2 separate regions of the Homo sapiens genome follow, and region 2 is linked to region 1. Evidence: promoter capture Hi-C in 16 types of primary human blood cells and fetal thymus (Javierre and others, 2016). All regions are on one chromosome and are shown on one strand. Each heading gives the region's core, a stretch centred on a gene start or on the middle of the fragment in contact. The rest is flanking DNA. Distances are from core to core; before and after follow the strand shown. Region 1 overlaps TBC1D24 (TBC1 domain family member 24). Region 2 holds the start of CASKIN1 (CASK interacting protein 1).

What was found. The method cuts DNA at HindIII sites, captures the fragments that hold promoters and counts their contacts. A CHiCAGO score of 5 or more calls a contact.
Region 2: a contact is called between the fragment with the promoter of CASKIN1 here and a fragment that was not itself captured in region 1, in 2 of 17 cell types (fetal thymus and erythroblasts). The highest score is 6.5, in fetal thymus.

What each region holds. Positions count from the first base shown.
Region 1 is chr16:2,503,072-2,506,289 of GRCh38, forward strand. TBC1D24 (TBC1 domain family member 24) reads left to right here. Exons shown (of 8, transcript NM_001199107.2): 8 at 1-2,659. Among named protein-coding and RNA genes, the nearest start is that of ATP6V0C, 9.3 kb to the right of the region's middle. The HindIII fragment of the contact is 5,616 bases long and covers 1-3,218 here.
Region 2 is chr16:2,195,093-2,198,310 of GRCh38, forward strand. CASKIN1 (CASK interacting protein 1) reads right to left here and starts at 1,513. Exons shown (of 20, transcript NM_020764.4): 1 at 1,247-1,513. The coding sequence starts at 1,340. The HindIII fragment of the contact is 37,961 bases long and covers 1-3,218 here.

The DNA of each region.
Region 1 (3,218 bases), core at 204-2,703:
CCTGAACTGGGTGGTGATTTTTCTGGCGAGTTAAGTCCAGCAGGTTCTGCGTGGCTGCCCCCAGGGGGCCCCACCCGGGCCTTCCAGTGATCTGGACCAGGAAGACGGATTGCTGCTGGGTCATGATTTCCACATCATGAGCGAAGTTCTTTGTTTTTTGTGTGCATGCAAAATATTGTTTCTTTAAATTTAATATCTTTTCCTAACTTTTCTACTAACCTAGAAGGTATGTGTGATTATTATCTTTTTTATTCTTATCACTGTACTTGTTAGTATCTGATATTAGGTATTCCCAAATAGAACATAATTTATTTTGTTAATGTTCTCTATTTCTTCTTGATTATTTATTAGCTTTGGATGTTAAAAATTAGCCAAAAGTGGCTGCTCTGCCTATGAAGTAGCCATTCTTTGTTTAAAAAAAAAAAAAGCCAACATTTGTTGAAACTGCATAATAAATTATCATTTGTTTTTAGAAACATTCAAAGAATTATTTTTTGATTTTTTTTTTTTTTGGGACAGAGTCACCCAGGCTGGAGTGCAGTGGCATGATCTTGGCTCACTGCAACCTCCGCCTCCTGGGTTCAAGCGATTCTCCTGCCTCAGCCTCCTGAGTAGCTGGGATTACAGGCATACGCCACCACGCCCAGCTAAATTTTTTTTGTATTTTTAGTAGAGGCAGGGTTTCACTGTGTTGGTCAGGCTGGTCTTGAACTCCTGACCTCGTGATCCACCCCCCCCTCAGCCTCCCAAAGTGCTGGGATTACAGGCGTGAGCCACCGCGCCTAGCCTATTTTTTAATTTTTTTGAATAGACCACTTTGTGCTGAATAAATGTTTAACATTTATTTTTAAAACAACAATTGCACCTAATTTAAAATAGTTTATTAAATGAATTCATTAAAGCAGATTATATGCCTTTGGGGCTTCAGAAAATCAGTTTAAGCAAAAGAACTTATGAGAGTAAGTCATTTGTACTTGAATTTTTTCAGAGTTTTAATGAACTAAAGTATTTTAATTTTTCTATTTTTGTAAGCCGCATACTTCATTTTTTGAGTTTTTCAGTGGAATTTGTTTTAAAACGTTTTGAAGATTTCAGAGGCCTTCATATTTCTCTTATCCACTTTCTGAACCCATAAAGCCTTTGCAGTCTCCTTGAGTAGTTTATATTTAGTAATTTAGTTGTGTACCTTTTTATTTTGAAGTAATTTTTGATTTGCAGAAGAGTTGCAGAGACGGTACAGGGTTTCCATGTACCCTCACCTTCCCCCAAGTCAATATCAAAACAAAGAAATAAGCATTGTTGCATTGCTGTTAACTAAACCACAGGCCTATTGAGATTGTCCCTTTTTTTTTTTTTTTTTTTTTTGAGACAGAGTCTCGCTCTGTCGCCCAGGCTGGAGTGCAGTGGCGCGATCTCGGCTCACCGCAAGCCCCGCCTCCCGGATTCACGCCATTCTCCTGCCTCAGCCTCCTGAGTAGCTGGGACTACAGGCACCTGCTACCACACCCGGCTAATTTTTTTATATTTTTAGTAGAGATGGGGTTTCACCGTGTTAGCCAGGATGGTCTTGATCTCCTGACCTCGTGATCTGCCCTCCTCGGCCTCCCAAAGTGCTGGGATTACAGGCGTGAGCAACCGCGCCCAGCCGAGATTGCCCCGTTTTTTTCCCACTGTCCAGGAATCGATTTAATTTTTACAGTTGTTTACTTTCTCACATTTTTACTAAGTCCAGAATATCATCAAACTCACAAAACCACTGGTCAAAAAAACCCAAATGGCCACTAATTAGGCAATACAGCACCTGCCTCAAATTTGGGTTCATATAGATTTTTTTCCTCCCTTTTTGTGGAGAACATAGTCTTGCTGTGTTGCCCAGGCTAGTCTTGAACTCCTGGACTCAAGCAATCCTCCCGCCTCTGCCTCCCTAAATTCTGGGATTACAGGCGTGAGCTGCTGTGCCCAGCTCATCCAGATTCTTGCTGGTTCTCTTTCTCAGCCTAAATGTCTTGTTTGCGTGGAGAAATTATCAAATGAAGCAGGAGTGCCAAACAAGCCTCATAGGCTCTTCACCCTACAACATCTATGTTAGGTAGAAAAGTATGTGGATTTTTAAAAATCATCTGGTATAAAGAGTTTTTAAGAACTATCTTCATCATCTTAGTATCAGATTGTGCTTGAGAAGTTAGGTACAATGTAATGTGATTCATTGCTAAAAACAAAATGCCTCCCACAATTGCAGACTCACTCATTTTACCAAACTATGGAATTTGTCAACACCTTTTCTTGGGACCAAGGAAGCAAAGTCAGTGGATACCGTGTCCTGTAGACATGTCACTTGTGATAAGGCACGGACAACATGAACTGGCAAAAACATTGGCATTTGGTCAAATGCTTATGAGCTAAGGATAGAAGGGAAAAAATAGTTGTGTGAATGATTTTACCTCTTAGTTCTTACGAAGGATGGTTATCGGGCTGGAAAAATGTTTATTGGACTGATGCTTTGGAGCCTCTCAATGAATGTAATAAAAAAAATGTGTAGTGAGCACAAATGTATGGATTTGCAGCACAATCCAACTTTGAAAATGTGAAAATAAGTGAGTTAGTGATATGTTTGGTTGGTGTTAATTTGAGTCCTAAATAAAATCGAGAACTGGTAAAAGAAGGTCACTGTGAAATAACTTGCTATGAGAAGGCTTAGAGGGATGGGAAGTCCTGGACGCCTCTTCTCCAGGGTGTTGGAGGAGAGAGGGAGGCGCTAGGTTGACAAGACCGCATCTGCGCATTGTGGTCACCAGCGAGTCTCTCCACTGAGGCGACAGGTACATGTCTGTCGCATTTGCAGCCGTGGCCGGTGAGAACGGCAGCATTCCCTGATCCGTCTTGTTTTCTTTTGTTCCTAGTGCCTGCTGTGTGGACAGCTACACTCAGCAAAGTCTTAGGGAGACTTAGAGGAGTCACCATGAAGAATCAGTGTCAGACGTTTCATCAGGAATCCCTGTCAAGGCCGGGTGTGGTGGCTCACACCCGTAATCCCAAGACTTTAGGAGGCTGAGGTGGGTGGATTGTTTGAGGCCAGGAGTTTGAGAGCAGCCTGGGCAGCACAGGGAGACTCCATCTCCACAAAAAAATAGTGAAGAACCCCTGTCGTGTGTAAAACACGAGTATCAAAAAACAAACTCAACCTTTCTCATTCAAAATTTCAAAATGAGTATTTCCTT
Region 2 (3,218 bases), core at 263-2,762, 310 kb before region 1:
TCAGCTGAGGCTGCCTCTGCCCACAAGCTCTCCCTTTCTGAGCCCCCGGACCTGAAATCAGCTCGGGGCCAGCCTGCAAGGCACCGGTGCCCCCTCTCTCTTACTGCACAGAGTGGACAGGAGCTAGCCAGTCATGGGCTGCTGGTGAAGTACGGGGGAGGGGGTCCTCCTGGGACTCCTAGGTGCCCCCAACAATCTCCCAGAAGCCAGTCCCAGTTCTCGGCATCCCCCTGGAGGAAGGGGAGGGGGACTCTCTGGCTTACAGTCTGTGGGGGTGGAGGGAGGAGGGAGGACGCCCAGACCCCACGTGCCGACCTGCAGAGCCCTGTCCGTGCCCGCACAGGTGCCCTGACACACTGACACGGCTATACGTGCGCAGCCGCACACGCGGCTGGTCCACACGCCCATCCATCCATCTCCGGCGGCCCCCAGGGAGGCTACGCGCTGAGCCAGGATGAGTGCTGGGACCAGGGCTCCAAGCTCCCAGCCCTTTCCTGGGGCCGGCCATAGGGCAAGCTGGGGATGGCCAGTGGTGGTCCCCCACTCCCTCATGGCCTCCTTTCCCAGCAGGGAAGCTGGAGACCCGGCTCTGCTGGAGCCTGCCTGAGCAGGGCCCCAAGCCCTTGCGCCCAGGCCGGCCCTGCCTGGAGTCCAGCCTGCCCTGGGCTGGGCGACCTTGGGCCTCTGCTCTCCCATCAGTAAATGGCACCCCACCGGCCATGCCAGGGCAGCCACACCCCCAGCGTGGTCCTGCCCCCACCTTCCCTGCAAAGCGTGTTATTAAACGTGGGGCGGGAGGGGGTCTGCTAGGGACTGTCACCTCCCGGGTCGCCCCTCGCCGCAGGGGCCCCCTCCCTGTCTTCCCGGTGCGTGTGGTGGGTGGGGGGGGCATCCGCCTCGCCCTTTGAAGGCCCCAGCAGAGACCTCCAGCTGTCAGCCCGCAGCCTGGGAAGGGAGGGGGACAGAGGTAGAGAGAGAGGGATGCGAACGCCCGCGGCCCGGGAGGCGGGTGCCGCCAGGTGCCCGCTGCGGGGCTCACGGTGGCGGCCGGCTCTCGGGGCCGCCCCATCTCCAGTGCTGGGGGCAGCGGGTGGAGGGCACGGACCAAGGGTCTGGGCGCTGCTGGCCCCGCCCCGCCCCCGGGGACCCGACAACGTCCCCTCCCCGCCCGGCGCCGGGTGGGGGGCTCCGCGCCGGGGAGGGGCCCCCGGGGCTCCCACCCGCGCCCCGCGCCCCCGGCACTCACTGGCCTTCCCGGGCCGCGGCCTCTGCAGCAGCCTCTGCGCGGTCCCTACGTCCTCCGCCTTCACCGCCTGCACCAGCTCCTGCTCCTTCCCCATGGCGCGGCCGGGGCCGCAGCGACGCGGCTGCGCTCGTGAGCTCGGCGCGGCTCAGAGGCGGCGGCGGCCCCGCGGCACCGGCCGCCTCCCCCGCCGCCTCCCCCGCCGCCTCCTCGCCGCCCGCCGCCCCTTCGCCCTCCTCGGGCTCCGGCTTGGGCTCGGGCTCCCGGCGCGGAGGGGGCGGGGAGCGCGTCACGGGCGGGGGGCGGCCCGGGGGCGGGGGCGCGCGGCGGGCGCGGGGCGGGGGCGCGGCACCTGGCGCCGCCTCCCGGACGCCGGGGTCCGCTCCCGGGCCGCCGACCTCCGTCAGCCCGCGCCGGCCGCGCGCCCGGGCCCGTGGCTCCGCCCTCCCCGCGCCCGCCCCGGGACGCCCCCTCCCCACGTGCGCGCAGCGCGCTCAGGCCAGGCCTCTGCGGACGCGGGCGGCCTGGGGCTGCTAGCCGGGCTGGGGACGCGGCCGCCGGGGGTGCACTGGGAGCCCCGACGCGGCGGCGGCGCGGGGCTGAGCCCAGAGAGGCTTCCAGAGGCTGCGGGACCCGCGGGGGACGGTTCCGAGGCAGCGGGCGGGCGGGGACCGGGCGCCGAGAGACCCGGGCGCCAGTGCCCCTGGAGCCGGCCCGCCAGGCTGTCAGGCGTTCCTGGCCCAGGGTTCCCGTGGGAGGTGTCGAGGGATTGTGAAGAGGAATCTCCCAATAATGAATTCGGTGTCAGGGAACCCGCACCCCCAACCCCCAAGCATCCTCCTGCTCCTCTCCGCAAATAATGCGGGCGCCACAGCTTCCCCCAGCCTCAGTCCGAAGCCTGACCCCAAGGTAGCCCCCACCACCCCCACTGAGGGAGCTCAACTCCCCACTCCCCGCACCGACTGGGGGTCGCCTCCATCTCCATCCACAGGGGCTGGAACCTCCCGCCGGCACCAACCGACCCCCGGCCCACGTCTGCCCACTCTCCAGCCTGCAGCCCAGGCAGGCGAGTCCTGCTTCCTGGGTGCTGGAGGCCCCGACTTGTGACCCTCTGAGCTCCTGGCTGAAGGCTTGGGCCACCCTGCGCCTCAGGCCCTCTCCCGTCAGGCCTGCAGCATTCTAGAGGCAGATCAGTGGGGGTCTGAGTCCCGACTCAGGCTCCGTTTCCCTCATCACCCAAGCGGGCAAGGCCGTTTGGAGAATTTGGGGAGGGTCGCACCCATTCTATGAGGCATGGCCTGGCACCCCACTCTGTGTGGCCCCAGACCATTGAGCAGGTCCAGGGGGACAGAGGAGGTCAGACAGCAGGGACAGGGAAGGTGACAGGCACCGGGGTCCCGGCATCCTGTGGGCAGCTGGCCGTTCCCGTTCCCTCCGTGGGGTCTCCTGTTAGGTTCAGGTAGCAGCCCTTGGTCTTCCAGCACTCCTGGGAGGGGTCCCCAAATGCTAGGGCCTTTCCTCTTGCCCTTTCCAATGACCAGTTGAGTACCCGCTGGGTCAGGCACTGTGCTGGTCACCTCCTAGATGAGGTTGGACTCACTGTCCCCATTTTACAGATGAAGAAACTGAGGCTCAGAGAAGCCAAGGGGCTCACCTGGGGTCCCAGAGTCTTGAGGTTGTAAGTCTGGGCTTTGCACCCGCACCTCTGGATGTGTCCTATTCCCCCTCTTAGTGGTTTGTGACCATGAGCTGGTCACTTTGTCATTCTTTTTTCTGAGACAGGGTCTCGCTCTGTCGTCCAGGCTGGGGTGCAGTGACGCCATCATAGCTCACTGCAGCCTCAACATCCCAGGCTCAAGCAGTCCTCCCGCCTCAGCCTCCTGAGTAGCGCCCGGCTAATTTTTTTTGATTTTTAATAGAGATGAGGTCTCAGTATGTTACCTAGACTGGTCTCGAACTCCTGGCCTCAAGCAGT